2 separate regions of the Homo sapiens genome follow, and region 1 is linked to region 2. Evidence: promoter capture Hi-C in human tissues and cell types (Jung and others, 2019). All regions are on one chromosome and are shown on one strand. The core of a region is centred on a gene start or on the middle of the fragment in contact, and the rest is flanking DNA. Distances in the headings are between cores, read along the strand shown.

Region 1 (3,280 bases), core at 541-3,040, 1.3 Mb before region 2:
TTTCCAATTCGATGTATAGATTCAATGCAATCCAAATAAAAATTCCGGAAAGTTACCTTGTGGATTTTGACAAACTGAAGTTTATATGAAAAGGCAAATGACCCAGAAGAGCCAACTCAATTCTAAAGAAAAACAAAATTGGAAGAGTGACACTACTCAACTTCAAGACTTACTATAAACCTATAGTAATCAAGATAGTGTGGTACTGACAAAAGAAAAGACAACTAGATCAATGGAACAGAATAGAAAGCCCAGAAATAGACCATTATAAATATATCCAACTAATCTTTGACAAAGCAGCAAAGGCAATACAATGAAGCAGAGACAGTTTTTTTCAACAAATGGTGCTGGAACAGCTGGACATACACATGCAAAAACAAAACAAAACAAAACAAAACAAAAAACAAACCTAGACACACACCTACATCTTCACAAAAATTAACTCAAAATGAATTATAGACCTAAATGTGAAGTGCAAGGCTATAAATCTCCTAAAAGATAATGTAGGAGAAAACCTAGATGATCTTGAGTATGGTGATAACTTTTTAGAAACCACACTGAAAATGTGATTGCTGAAAGAAATAATGATAAGATGGACTTTATTAAAATTAAAAATTTCTGCTTTGCAAAATTTAATGTCAAGAGAGTGAGAAAACAAGCTTTGGGCCAACAGAAAATATTTAGAAAAGACAGGACTGTTATCCAAAATATAAAAAGAATTCTTAGAACTCAATAATAAGAAAATGAACAACCCAACTAAAACGTCCAAAGACCTGAACAGACACTTCATCAAATAATATATACAAATATCATGTAAGCATATGAAAACATGTTTGATATGATATGCTATTAAAGAATTTCAAATTAAAATGACAATCAAAAAATTACTATGCACCTATTAGAATGGTCTAAATCCAAAATCAGAAACCCTGACAACACTAAATGCTGGTGAAGATGTGTGGCAACAGGAAATCTTATTCACTGTAGATGGGAATGTAAAATGATACAGCCACTATGGAAGACTGTTTGGCATTTTCTTATAAGACTAAACACACTCTTACCGTATGACCTAGCAATCACACTCTGCTATTTCCCTAAACAAATTTAAAACATGTTTACTCAAAAACCTGCAGCCTATTCATAATGGCCCAAACTTGGAAGAAACCAACATGTCCTTCAGTAGGTGAGTGTATAAATAAGCTGTGGTACTCAAACTACATCAGACAATAGAACATTATTCAGTGCTGATGAGAAGAAATGAGCTATGAGAAGATATGAAGGAAACTTAAATGCATATTACTAAGTAAAATAAGCCAATCTGAAAAGATTATGAACTGTATGATTCCAAATATATGACATTCTGGGAAAGGTAAAAAAGTTGGAAATAGTAAAAAGATTAGTGGTTGCCAGGATCTGGGCTGCAGGGGGTTTGGGGGTCAATGAATAGACAGAGCAAAGAAGATTTTACGGCAGTGAAACTATTCTGTAAAATACTACCATAGTGGCTACATGCCATTATACATTTATCAAAACCCACAGAAGGTACAACACCAAGAGTGATCTCTGATGCGAACTATGGACTTTGGGTAATAACAATGAATCAACGTAGGCTCATTGATTATAAGACATGCAGCACTTTGGTACAGGATGTTGATAGCTGGAAAGGTTGTGGGTGGGAACAGTGAGTATATGGGGAACCCTCTGCTCAATTTCTCTGGTGCATGATGGTGATAAGCTGTGTGCTTTGGGGACAATGAGTATACAGGAACTCTGTACTTTCTGCTCAATTTGCTGTGAACCTAAAATTACTCTAAAAATGAAGTTTATTAATTAAAAAATAGAATGCTGCTGGAGAGGTATCAGATATGAAGAAGATATAAATGAAATCAAAGATGGTTAAAAAATGCATGAGTTCTAGAAATGAACATCAAGAAAAGAGACTATAGAATTCTCTAGAAAGAAGATTGGTGGCTCTTATTTCATTCTCCCCAAATAAAAAAAGTCCTTTCATTTCTAGGAGAAGGATCTTGTAATAGTAACTAGAATTAGGTTATGGAGCCACAGGAGAAATCTCCTTTATATGTCACTGGGTAAAAGAGTATGAGAGTGCCTATACTCCAAAGAACAAATAAATATGTACATGTTTTGCATCTCTATGAAGCCTTAAATCAGCAATGTTCCCTGTGTCCACACTGTAAACAAGAATATCATCTACCAGTAGAGAGAGTTTCTCCAAGTGTTGGAATCATAACCCAGTACATTTTGACTTTATTCTGATGGTTTGTCTATATCTGCTAGCAAGGTTTATGACTAGTCTAGATGTTTTAAAAGCCACAACACAAGCTAACAAACTACTATATAAAATACGCTCTACCCTTCTACCTTGACAAATGTATATTTAAATGACAAAATAAAAATATATGTATAAAGCCATGATGTTTATATGGCTAAAGTAGCCAAGGTTTCAGGATGACTGAATTTAATTATTATTGGGTGTATGTGAATGTTAATTTGATGGGCTGGCAGTGTTTGGGTGAAGAACAAAATAAAGATACACATAATTCACAAATTATTTCTTATTTATTCTAAGAAATCGATTTTTCTTGGCTACATTTAAACAAATCACTAATTTTATTATTAAAGCCAAGATAACATCATTATTTGTATTCTATTTGAAGTAAATGACCTAAAGGATTAAAGAATAAAGTAATATTTAAGAGGGGATAAAGTTTGAAATTATTTTCCCACAAATGTGGATTAAATTAAATGCAAAATTTGGAAAAATACAGATTTTAAATGTTTTAAATAATACATTTAAATTACATATTTGAATCAAAGGCCCAACTGCAAATTAAATTATTGAATATTGAAGTTTTAAATAAAACTTATTTATGTATGTGTTTATTTTTAAAGACAGTGCTTCATTCTGTTGCCCAGGCTGGAGTACAGTGGTGTGATCACAGCTCACTGCAGCCTTGAAATCCTGGGCTCAAGGGGTCCTCCCACCTCAGCCTCCCCAGTAGCTGAGACTGCAGGTGCACACCACCATTCCAGGGTGAATTATTTTATAAAAAATTTTGTAGAGACAAGGTCTTGCTATGTTTCCCAGGCTGGTCTCAAACTACTGGCCTCAAGGGATCCTCCTCCCTTGGCCTCCCACAGTGTTGGGATTACAGACAAGAGTCACTGTGCTGGGCCAAAATTATTTAAATAAAGCTAATTATATTTTATTGTTTTGAAATATCTAATAAATCTCATTAAGAAGTTTTATACAAATAAA
Region 2 (2,992 bases), core at 260-2,759:
GGATAAAAAATAAGAAAAGCAACCCCTATTGCAAACGTTAATACATTTCCAGTGATTATCTCTTGATCATGATGGGTATCACAGTGTGGAAGACTCTGTTGTCACAGTCACTGACATCAGAAAAAAATCCCCCAAAGTCAGTGTTACAGGTTACTGTCCAGTGTATCATTATCATCAGGATCAAATCCTAAAAACTAAGACAAATTTTTTAAAAATTAAGGGGCAATTTTCTTTTAAAGTATTCTTGTAGGAAACCACAACATCTTTTTTCACAAGAACAGAGGCAAAGAAAGCAGTTTCACCTAAAGGCACAATACCTGCCAAAAAACCACTCCACTTCTTGACCTCACTGGGGACGTCCTCTTCGCAATTTCTTAGTTCATTGGGAATTTTGCCAGCGCCAAGGCCAACAACATTCCTGAAGATGTCATTTCCACCACAGCACACCCTCCCCTATTTACTGGCTCAGTAAACACTGGGGTAATGAACTAATGAACAAGTGAATGAATGAGAAGGCAGCAGCACTCTGCCGGGGTGCTTACCTCTTCTGGTTCATGGAGGCCACCTGGAGCCACTCGTTGGTGCTGGGGTTGTAGGAATGCGCAGCGGAGATCTCCTGGCTAGTGATCCTGTACCCGCCCACTATGAAGAGGTAGTTGTCCAGGATGGCAGACCCATAGCCCCTGACATTGACCAGGTCGGGAGGAAGGTTGTTGGCCAGCGGGAACCAACGCTCAGTCATCTCCTCGTACCTGAGCATGGACGGGGGCTCCCCCTGGTAGGGGTGAGGGGCCAGGGGTCCCCCCAGGAAGTCCCCGAGGGCCACGAGGACAGGAGTCCCAGTCATCCGGGCCTCCCTCAGCCTCTGCTTCAGGCTGACATCCCCTGGAGCTTGGGGAGGAGACCCCAGGAGGTGGAACTGGGGCTTGCACAGCACCTCGTGGAAGTGGACGACCATGAAGCGCAGGCAGGCCTCCTGCAGGTCGGGCAGCCCGTACACCTGCGCCAGGCGGTACATCTCCAGGCAGTTATTGAGCCGCACCTGGGACAGCAGCAGCTGCAGCAGGGACGTGACCTGCAGGAAGGAGGCCGCCTCCACCAGCTCGGACAGCAGGCTCACCTCATCCATCTCCTCGTCCTCGTCCACCCCGCCGCCCTTTTCCCCGCGCGGGCCCAGGAGCCAGCCTTCGCGGGCCCCGCCGGCGTTGATGAAGTCCAGCACCAGCCGCAGGCCCGGCGCGCTGAGGCCGCGCAGCTGCTGCACCTCCGGGCCGCCGGCCTCCTGGCTCAGGGCCTCGCGCATGCCGGAGCGGTAGAGGGCGCGGAAGTAGTCGCTCTGCTCGATGAGCTTCCTCTTGCTCACCGGGTAGCAGCGGTCCTCCAGGCGGATCTGCACCATCTCCTCGGCCGACATGGCTGGGGGCCCCGGGGCGGCAGCGCTCACCGCCAGATCTGCGCGCCGGCCTCCCAGCCCCTACGCGCGCGCCGGTTCCGGGCGGGGCGCCGAGGGATGGCGGCCCGGGAGGAGCGGCGAGGTGAGGGCCGCCCGCGCTCGCCCGGCCTCTCCGGCGGCCCCTCCTCCCGGGGCCCGCTCCCGCGAGGCGGCGGCCCTGCCCTTCTCCTTTCCCTCAGCGCCAAAAAAGGGCCGGCGGAGCGCGGCGGGCGTCCTCGCGCGGGCTCTCCCGGGCGGCGCCAGGCGGGAAGGGAATTCCAGCTCCCAGCCAGCAGCCTCCTCCCCCGCCGCCCTTCTCACTTCCGCCCGCGGGACCCCAGCCGCCGGCCTGACCTGCCGGCTGGATCCGGCTCTCGGGGAGGCCCGGGAAGCTGCGGGCCCGGGCGCCTCGGCTGCGGACGCGCAGCTGCGGGAGGCGGAGGGCGCGCGTCCCCGCAGCCTCTCCGCCCGCCCGGGGCGCGCCGGCTCCGCCGCTTGTTGGGGGCTGCAGTGATGCTCCGGGGTACCCCAGGGAGAAGAAATTCGTTTTCTCTCCCACGCTGCTTTACACGGGCTAAAGAAAAAGAAATGAGCGTGGGAGGAAAGGGAAGGATGGAGTCTCTGGTCCAGGGAGACAAAAAGGCATCAAATATGGGGTCGTCCTTCTGGCCCAGTCCGGCATCGAGTGTCAGTGGGCTGAGGCACGCAGGCGATCTATGGACAGTTGGTGGCAATGTTGGTGGCACGTAGAGCTGATTCTCTGGTAGCGTGGTCGCGTAGGAGCCATCTTACAGGAGGTCCAGGCAGATGGCAGCAGGTTCTCAGAGGAATCGGGTTGGGAGGCAGGGGAGCTTGCATTTGCCACTGGGGCCCCTTATTCTCCCTAAGTTATTAAAAGAAAGATGAAAGCGCAGCCCGACTAAATAAAGTTACATCACGTGGCTTCTGGTTTTAAACCATGTTTTCTATGAGCCATTGCTTTTCTACTTCAGTCCAGTCCATTACGGAATGTTATCCTGGCGCAAAAGATCTGACAAAATTGGCTCATAAATGTCTGCAAGAAGTAGCTTTTCTTGTCACCCCCTTTCTCCACCTACCCTGCCCCCATCATCTGAGGACTATTAAGAGAGACCACACGTGCGGTTTGGCTGAGCGCGGTGGCTCACGCCTGTAATCCCATGACTTTGGGAAGCCCAGGTGGGCAGATCACGAGGTCAGGAGTTCGAGAGCACCATGGCCAACATGGTGAAACCCCGTCTCTACTAAAAATACAAAAATTAGCCGGGCGTGGTGGCACGCGCCTGTGATCCCAGCTACTCGGGAGGCTGAGGCAGGAGAATTGCTGGAACCCGGGAGGCGGAGGTTGCAGTGAGCCGAGATCGCGCCACTGCACTCCAGCCTGGGCGACAGAGCGAGACGCCGTCTCGGAAAAGAGAGACCACTTGTTTCCTATGTTCTCTCACTGAACATTGCAATTAGAAGGCCCACCCCAAATAATAATAGGAAGGACTTTTTGTCTTGCTAATGAATTCATCCCAGGAAGGGGGTGGGGGGAGAAAT

Evidence for each region. Contacts are between HindIII fragments. The study calls those that stand out against the background at their distance.
Region 1: a contact is called between a fragment that was not itself captured here and the fragment with the promoter of MANSC4 in region 2, in 1 of the 25 tissues and cell types used here (dorsolateral prefrontal cortex).

What each region holds. Positions count from the first base shown.
Region 1 is chr12:29,122,190-29,125,469 of GRCh38, reverse strand. No RefSeq gene overlaps it. Among named protein-coding and RNA genes, the nearest start is that of FAR2, 25 kb to the left of the region's middle. The HindIII fragment of the contact is 4,385 bases long and covers 1-3,280 here.
Region 2 is chr12:27,778,753-27,781,744 of GRCh38, reverse strand. MANSC4 (MANSC domain containing 4) reads left to right here and starts at 1,509. Exons shown (of 4, transcript NM_001146221.5): 1 at 1,509-1,535. It overlaps KLHL42 (kelch like family member 42), which reads right to left and starts at 1,512. Exons shown (of 3, transcript NM_020782.2): 1 at 543-1,512. The coding sequence starts at 1,414. RefSeq lists an enhancer at 996-1,495 and silencers at 1,361-1,670, 1,691-1,910. The HindIII fragment of the contact is 9,315 bases long and covers 1-2,992 here.